Regions from separate parts of the Homo sapiens genome. Here region 2 is linked to region 1. The links are contacts of gene promoters, found by promoter capture Hi-C in human tissues and cell types (Jung and others, 2019). All regions are on one chromosome and are shown on one strand. Each heading gives the region's core, a stretch centred on a gene start or on the middle of the fragment in contact. The rest is flanking DNA. Distances are from core to core; before and after follow the strand shown. Region 1 holds the start of SLC15A5 (solute carrier family 15 member 5). Region 2 overlaps SLC15A5 (solute carrier family 15 member 5).

The links. Contacts are between HindIII fragments. The study calls those that stand out against the background at their distance.
Region 2: a fragment that was not itself captured here is called in contact with the fragment with the promoter of SLC15A5 in region 1 in 2 of the 25 tissues and cell types used here (heart left ventricle and neural progenitor cells).

What each region holds. Positions count from the first base shown.
Region 1 is chr12:16,275,322-16,279,154 of GRCh38, forward strand. SLC15A5 (solute carrier family 15 member 5) reads right to left here and starts at 2,364. Exons shown (of 9, transcript NM_001170798.1): 1 at 2,004-2,364. The coding sequence starts at 2,364. It overlaps LOC101928362 (a long non-coding RNA gene), which reads left to right. Exons shown (of 11, transcript XR_001749028.1): 10 at 415-530; 11 at 872-1,204. The HindIII fragment of the contact is 12,619 bases long and covers 30-3,833 here.
Region 2 is chr12:16,230,479-16,234,429 of GRCh38, forward strand. The region is part of intron 5 of SLC15A5 (solute carrier family 15 member 5); the gene reads right to left. LOC101928362 (a long non-coding RNA gene) reads left to right here. Exons shown (of 11, transcript XR_001749028.1): 3 at 2,603-2,656. Among named protein-coding and RNA genes, the nearest start is that of SLC15A5, 45 kb to the right of the region's middle. The HindIII fragment of the contact is 8,576 bases long and covers 1-3,951 here.

The DNA of each region.
Region 1 (3,833 bases), core at 1,114-3,613:
AGGTTGGGGTTGCGTGTTGAACAACAAGTCTAGAGAGGTGAACTTAGAATAGGTTGGTAAGGTTGTTGTATGCTAAATTAATAAGTTTGGATTTCATTTTTTAGATAATAGAAGCAATATAGAGATTTATTTGTTCAGGAAGTCAGTGTTGTTGGTAGAATGGAGTACAAGCTGGAGACTGACTGAGAACTGGCAGCCGAGTAAGTAGGCCATTGGAATGGTTAAAAAGAAGAAAGCTGCATTTTTTCAGCTAGGGTAGTAGCAATTCAGACAGAAGACCTTTCTTATATATAACCTCTGAAATTTAGTGACAGTTGGAATTTGATGGCAGCTGTAAGTGGAGGGCAACAAAGAAATAACTTTTAGTAAAAAAATGAATGGATGTAGAGTTGACTTAAGTCTTTTGTTTGCCAGATTCCAAAGTTGGGATTTCCATCCTGTCTGATGACTGACCTCAGAATTTAGACTGATAGAAATTACCATGTTAAACAAGAAGTCAACAAATGCTACTGGTGTGGCCTGTTACCAAGGTAAGCAGAGTAAGTTAGTCTGGGATTTGCTTAAATGTCTTCTTATCAGAAAACTTTTTCTCGGTACCAAGTAGCAGCCTCATCACCATCCATTCCATCCTGTCCCCCTACCCAGCTTTATTTTTCCATCCTAACTCATTGCCACATGACATCATATCTATTTCCTCTTTTATTTTCTCTCTCCCTGCACCAAAAAGTCAACTTTAGCAGGAACAGACGACTTTCTTCTCTATTGCATTTCCAGACCCAGAATAATGTCTGGTACAGAGTAGTCAATAAGAAATATTTGTTGAATGTTGAGTGATTATTTGCCATGCAGTGACCTAGTTTTTATTCCACAGAACTAAAGCTGTGAAGTTTCCAGGTTTGACTTAAACTCCAATGGATTCTCTGAATGGTAATTTACCACCTGCCTGAGATTGTGTGATATGTTGAGTACCTGATATCTATCCATCTCTTTCTCATCTGTCCCCCTACCAATACTCATTTCAGCTGCACTTCTCATTATTGGTGAACAGCATGCTATATTCCCAAGTTGCTCAGATCAGAAACTTGGAGCTAATTTTTGACCCCCATCACATTTGTACCTTTATTTAGTTGCCTTACAGCTTTTCACTTGTTCTCTCCTGAATTGGCACTTTATTGCTTAAACCATCATCCTGAGATTTTCTGATCTCTCTCTATTTAATTCCTCACTGTGGTTGTCCATCCTGTATTGCAGAATAGCATTTCTCAAATGTTGTTTTCATGATATTTTCAGAGACTTCTTGTTGCTTAAGAAGAATAACTTGAACTTTTCAGTTTAAAATTCTAGTCTGTTCTTCAAGTTGCTCTCTATTTCTTATTAAACTATCTTGATATTTTCCCAGCATTTCTCACAATCGGTCCCAAACTTTTGCAGATATATATTAGTATATATGTAAAGATGCACACTATAGTGTCTAATTTACTCATTTCTAAAGCATATAATCATAGTTAAAAATATAGAAATCATGCCATCATATGCAATCTTAATTACTATATGACTAATTAAAAGACCACCTTTGGATAAAAACATTTCTCAATTATTTTACATGAACTTCAAAAACCTTTTTTAGCACATTTCATCTTAGTTGTGAAGCAAATACATTTCACATTTCTGAGGGAATTTGTCATGAATTTAGGCTTGAGGTAAAAAGGTTTTGGGAAAGGAGGGCATTCTAAGGAGTAAGATAGATATGTAAAGGAGTAATTATTATAAAATATAAATGCAATGATATAGGCACAAAACATTCTCTAACACACACACACACACACACAGACTTACTAGCATTCTTCAAATAGTACAAAGAATGAAATACATTGAACCCACATTCTTACTTCATTTATCACATTTTATGCTAAGAGCAGAGTGAAAATAATATAAACTAAAAATTCTAACAAAAATCTACTTAATTAAGTCACAAAACAATCCAGTCAGCAGAGGACACTCACCTAGAAAATGTAGAAACAAGCAAATGTACACCAGTTTGTTTCTTCCTAAATAGACATCAGTGAGCCATCTGACAAACACAGGGGTAAGTATTGAAGTTCCAATAAAACACAAGTTTAAGATGGCTGCTTGGCAATTGTGATAGCCAAGCTTGATAGTGCAAAAGGGGATCATGTTGCAGACGACTTCAAAGAACGTGAACCTCTCACACAGCTCCACCAGAAGCAAGCAGATTCCAACCTGAATTTTTTTCACAGAGTGTGAGGAACACAAATCGCCAATATGTCTTACAGTTTTCTCCTTCTCAATGCTGTGATATAAGTGTACTTTCTCATCAGTTATGGTAAAGCCTGTAACAGACATGACTACCCTCCTTGAACAAAACTTATGTTAGTGGTTTGAACTTGGTGATATTTTGAGCCCCATCCCTCTGATGAAAAAAATAAGAACGTTGCTTTGAATTTCACATCTCCATGCTAGAATTTCATAAGGTTTGTTTTTTGCACATGGACGTTGTTCCTTTTGATGATCCAAGAGCATGAGTATTTAAATGTTCACAGTAGCTCAGTGTACCCAAATCTGATTTGTTTGCTTAATTACTTAGCGGCTAAATTAGGATCGTCCTCCAAAATTGTATTGAATTACATGAATCCAGTTGCAAACATGTGGAAACTCATCTGCCTCATACTGATAAAGGTTTAAATATTGAGGCAGAAGAAGCAGGTTTTCGGGAGAATTTGAGCACTAGATCAAGAAATAATTTGAGTCTAATAATTTCTGATACTTTAATTAAACAAGCCAGAACAGTACCAAGAGATAAAGCGCAAAAGGAAATCTGTTTTGAAGGGCACGATATCTTATCATTATTACATTTCTTGTTATTTTTGGTTGGAATTCTGATAAGAAACTTAATTAGGTAACAAAAGTGCTAGTACATTTAGGTAACAAGCAGAGTTTACAAGAAAGTAATTTAAGTGCACTAATGAAAGGAGAAAATATTAAACGAAACCCTGCTTCCTTTTAGTTGACCCCATGCTTGTAGAACAGCCTCTCAGAGGAAATCAGAATCAAAAGGTGCTATTTAACTCCTTTATTATTAATCAGTAGTCAGGGATACAGCAACCAGCCTACACAGGCTTTGGGGAATATTGGATCTGGTATCACCCTGACCCTTCAGCTGGGTGAATGGGTGTTAGCATTCTATTTTGGAAAGCAGGAGGGCCAATTAAGCTAAAAAAGCAGCAGTGAAAGAGAACACCTTAACATTTAGTGGCTTAGCTGCAAGGACATAGGAAGAAAAGGGACCGGAACTATTGGGTCAAAGTCATAATAATTCAACACTTGAGTATAGGAATGTTATTTTCATGCTGTAGTCAAAACCTAAAGACCAATAGGGACTTTTGACTCTGGTTATCATCTTTTGGTTGTGAGAGACTGGGGGCAAAATACTCTGTTTTGACCCCTTCTAATAGCCTCATTGTAATGGTAGCTATTTGTCTCTGCTCAGCATTGCTACTTTGGTAACGATGCCCTAAATTTCCTTTGTGTAAATTGATCATGCAATTTATGATCCAAACTTGGACAGTTTTGTGCAGGTGAAAAGTGATGCTATTTATGGTTACTCCCCAAAAAAAAAAAACAGTTATAAACTGGGACTGTCCAGGGCAACACTCTAACATGTGTTCACCCTACCTTTGGAGAATGACTCCTATCTATTACCTGAGATCATGGTGGGGCTGTTGATCAGCATATGCCTTTTCTTCTAACCAAGTGGGTCAACACCCGGTCTAAGATAGTCCTTTTACTTTTCTCCTGTGGAATTTTAATCTTGA
Region 2 (3,951 bases), core at 993-3,492, 45 kb before region 1:
CCCATAGGCTTTGCTTTTGACATTACAGTAAACAATTAGAATGATGTTAAATTATTCAATTTGTTTACAAAATTTAGATGAATTTTTAATTATTTACACCCAGAGAATAAGGCACTTGAGTATTTTTTATTTTTTAATTCTTAAAAAAGACAAGGCCGGGCGCGGTGGCTCACGCCTGTAATCCCAGCATTTTGGGAGGCCGAGGCGGGTGGATCACGAGGTCAGGAGATCGAGACCATCCTGGCTAACACGGTGAAACCCCATCTCTACTAAAAATACAAAAAAAAAAAAAAAAATAGCCGGGCGTGGTGGTGGGCACCTGTAGTCCCAGCTACTCGGGAGGCTGAGGCAAGAGAATGGCGTGAACCCAGAAGGCAGAGCTTGTAGTGAGCTGAGATCATGCCACTGCACTCCAGCCTAGGCTGCAGAGCAAGACTCCGTCTCAAAAAAAAAAAAGACAAAAAAACTTTACATAATTATGTTCTTCAAGGTTTAGGACCTAGATAATGGCCAAGTATTTTTCTAATTAAATAGTCTCCACCAGTATGATTCTTATTAGTTACGTAACTGTGGGCCAGTCACTTTACCTTAAAAATTCTCAAGTATCTTTTGTACAAAATTTGGTATTAGATAGTGCATAATGGTGCAAATTCTTTGCAAGTTGGAAAAGAAAGTTGGAAAAAACTATGCAGATTTAGAATACTTTTAAGATCCTATTCCACTAAAAGAAGATTTTTATCTACATTCCAATATCTAGAGCAGTTTAGGGACTTCCAGTTAAGGTGGCTGATTGACCACACAATTTTAATTTTCTTTCTCATTCTAGTTAAATGATGGCAAAGAAATTTGGAAAAGGTAAAAAGTCAGAGAAAGAGAAAACAATGGTGGACAAAAATTGAAAAAAATGTAGAAATTGGAAAGAGAAGTGATAACTGATTTAGAAAAATAAATGAGGGAGCTACAATCTAAACTGACAGCTGAGTGAGAGACTGAAGAAGCATGACCCTAATCCTCCTAATCCCCTGAGGAATCATTTAGAAGCTCATGACTTGAAGGCACCAGGTATTTCAGAAGGTGGGGTAACACTCAGAAGGAAAACTGCAAGGACTGGTTGAAAGTCTGTGCACTGAACAGTGAAATTGTCAAGTCTCCAATTCTATCCCCATGAAACAAGGTGAGTATGTGTTCCATCTCCTCCTCTGGTAAGAGACTGGAGATTACTTTTCAGAATTTAAATAGGTGTGACTTTGGATTCAGAGAAGGCTGAGGCTGAAAATGGAAAATGGGTAAAAACTAAGATTTTGAATGATGAGACATCCTCCATTCCTATCTGCACACAGCCACACCTCACCTTCAGCACTAGGAAGTATGCCTCAAAGCAGGAGGCTGAAGAAATCTTCTCTCAATAAGCTGAATAACTCCATTAAAAGATTGCTGCATATAATAGCTGGGGGGAGATTCTCATAATAATATGACTGGTTCCCTTGCCAAATGGCATTCTACAGAGAAACCCCATAAGTCTCACTTATGTACAAAGTCATATCATCCTGAGTAATACTATTATTTTACAATCTATAAGAATAGATATCCCAAGATCACCAGACATTGGAGAAAAGCTTCCCATGTGAAAAACAAGGAGACAAGCAAACAGGAAGTGGGGGTAATCTGTAGTTAATGCAATCAATAATAAGTAGCTATGAAAAAAGAATAATAAGAAATCTTAGAAACCAAATATGACTTCTGAAATACAAAACTCAGCAGAAAATTTGCAGGATGAAGTCAAAGAAATTTCCAAAACAAATAGAGAAACAACAAACCAAAAAAGGCAATAACAATAAAAATCAAACAAACACATTTATAGATTTGAAGAGAAAATATTGAGACTTACTGAGTTATTTTAGGAAGGTCCAACATCTGATCAATAGGAGTTCAAAAGGAAATACAAAGAAAATGGAAGAAAGGAAACTTTTTTTAAAAATAAAATTTTTCTAATTGAAAGAGCCCACCTGGGTCAAAAGTACAATGGTTGAAAAAGACCTTTACCAAAGTACAATAAGATGAAATTTTAGAACACCATGGAAAGAGAGAAGAGCTTTCCGTTTAGGAAAAAAAGATTGTAACACAAGGATAAGCATCAGAAAAGCAATGGACTTCTGGCCAGGTGCAGCAGCTTGTAGCTGTAATCCCAGCACTTTGGGAGGCCGAGGTGGGAGGATCACTTGAGGCCAGGAGTTCAAGACCAGCCTGGGCAACATGACATAACCCCATCTCTACTAAAAATACCAAAATTAACTGGGTGTGGTGGCACATAACTGTAATCCCAGCTACTCGGGAGGCTGAGGCACAAGAATTGCTTGAACCAAGGAGGTGGAGGTTGCAGTGAGCCAAGATCATGCCACTGCACTTTAGCCTGAGCTACAGAGCTAGACTCTGTCTAAAAAAGAAAAAAAGAAAGAGAGAGAGAGAGGAAGAAAGAAAGAAGGAAAGAAAGAAAGAAGAAAGAGAGGGAGGGAGGGAGGGAAGGAAGGAGAAAGAAAGAAAGGAAGAAAAGCACTAGACCTCTCAACAGTAATTTAAGTTGCTTTCTTTGGTTTTCTTTCAGAATTTGAATTCTGTGAGTACCTTCTAAGATACCCCTTATCCTGACTAATTTGAGGTAATTTAGATTTTACAACTATCATGCACTTTTATTTTTTTGATTGTTACTTGTGCTATGTAAAAATGCTTATATTTTATGAAGGAAAGTTTATGGCATTACCAGCAAAAGTTTAGACAAGCATCACTATTTTTTTTCTCTGTAAAAGGCCAGTAATAAGTACTTCAGACTTTGTGAGAAAAACAACAAAATTGAGGATAAGTAGGTACTTACGTAACAAGAGAGAAATAAATTTCTATGATTTTTAAAATTGATAAAATTTAAAATTATTTCTTTTGGAAGGGTGATGCAATTTCAATTAATTAGAGTTTAAAGGTGTTTTCTATTATCAAATCAGTTGCAAATGTTCATCTGTGTAAACCATTCTTACCATGCAGGTCATACAAAAACAGACGGTGGGCCAGATTTGGCCCATGAGCTGTAGTGATTGGCTAACCCCTGGTTTAGTCATCCGCTTTTATTACCTGTTACTGAACTTTCGTTCTGGCCTAGAGAGAAATTGTGGCATTTTACCTGGGCCACTGCTGCCTATACACATGCATGAAACTTGAGAGAGCCGTCTTTTGGGCCACTTTCTTTGTCTTTGATACTGAAAGTGTCCTCCCTGACCAGTAGTGTAGGTATCACCTGGGGGCTTGTTAGACATGCAGAATCTCAGGCTCTGCTCCGGAACTACTGACTCAGAATCTGCATTTAAACTAGGTCTCTAGATGATTCTTATACAAATTAAACTATGAGAAGCACTGCTCAAGCATATAACACTGTCAGGCCTGATCTAGCAAAATCCAATGAAAGACTGTTCTCCAGAAAATTTCAAGCAAAGCACACATATTTAGTTTATTGTCTTAGTTTGCTTGTGCTGTTATTCAAAAAAAGTGTGAGACTGAGTAATTTATAAAGAATAGAAATTTCTTTTCTCACAGTTCTAAAAGCTGGAAAATTCAAGGACAAGGTGCTGGTAGGGTTGGTTGTCTGGGGAGGGCTGCTTTCTGCTTCCAAGATGGCACGTTCCACATGGCAGAAGGTAGAAGAGCAAATGAAATGAATTCTATCAAGACCTTTTATAAGAGCACCTAATCCCATTTATGACAGTGGAACACTGATGACTCACTCTCCTCCCAAAACCAACACCTCCCAATACTGTTGTACTGGGGATAAATTTCAACATGAATTTTGGAGGGAACAAAAACATACAAACCATAGCACTCTTACCTAGGTATTTTAGGGCAAAGCATATTTTAGAGTATTTAAGGATCTATGTTTGCTTCTTATTTGCTACTGCACTCTGGTGCCAA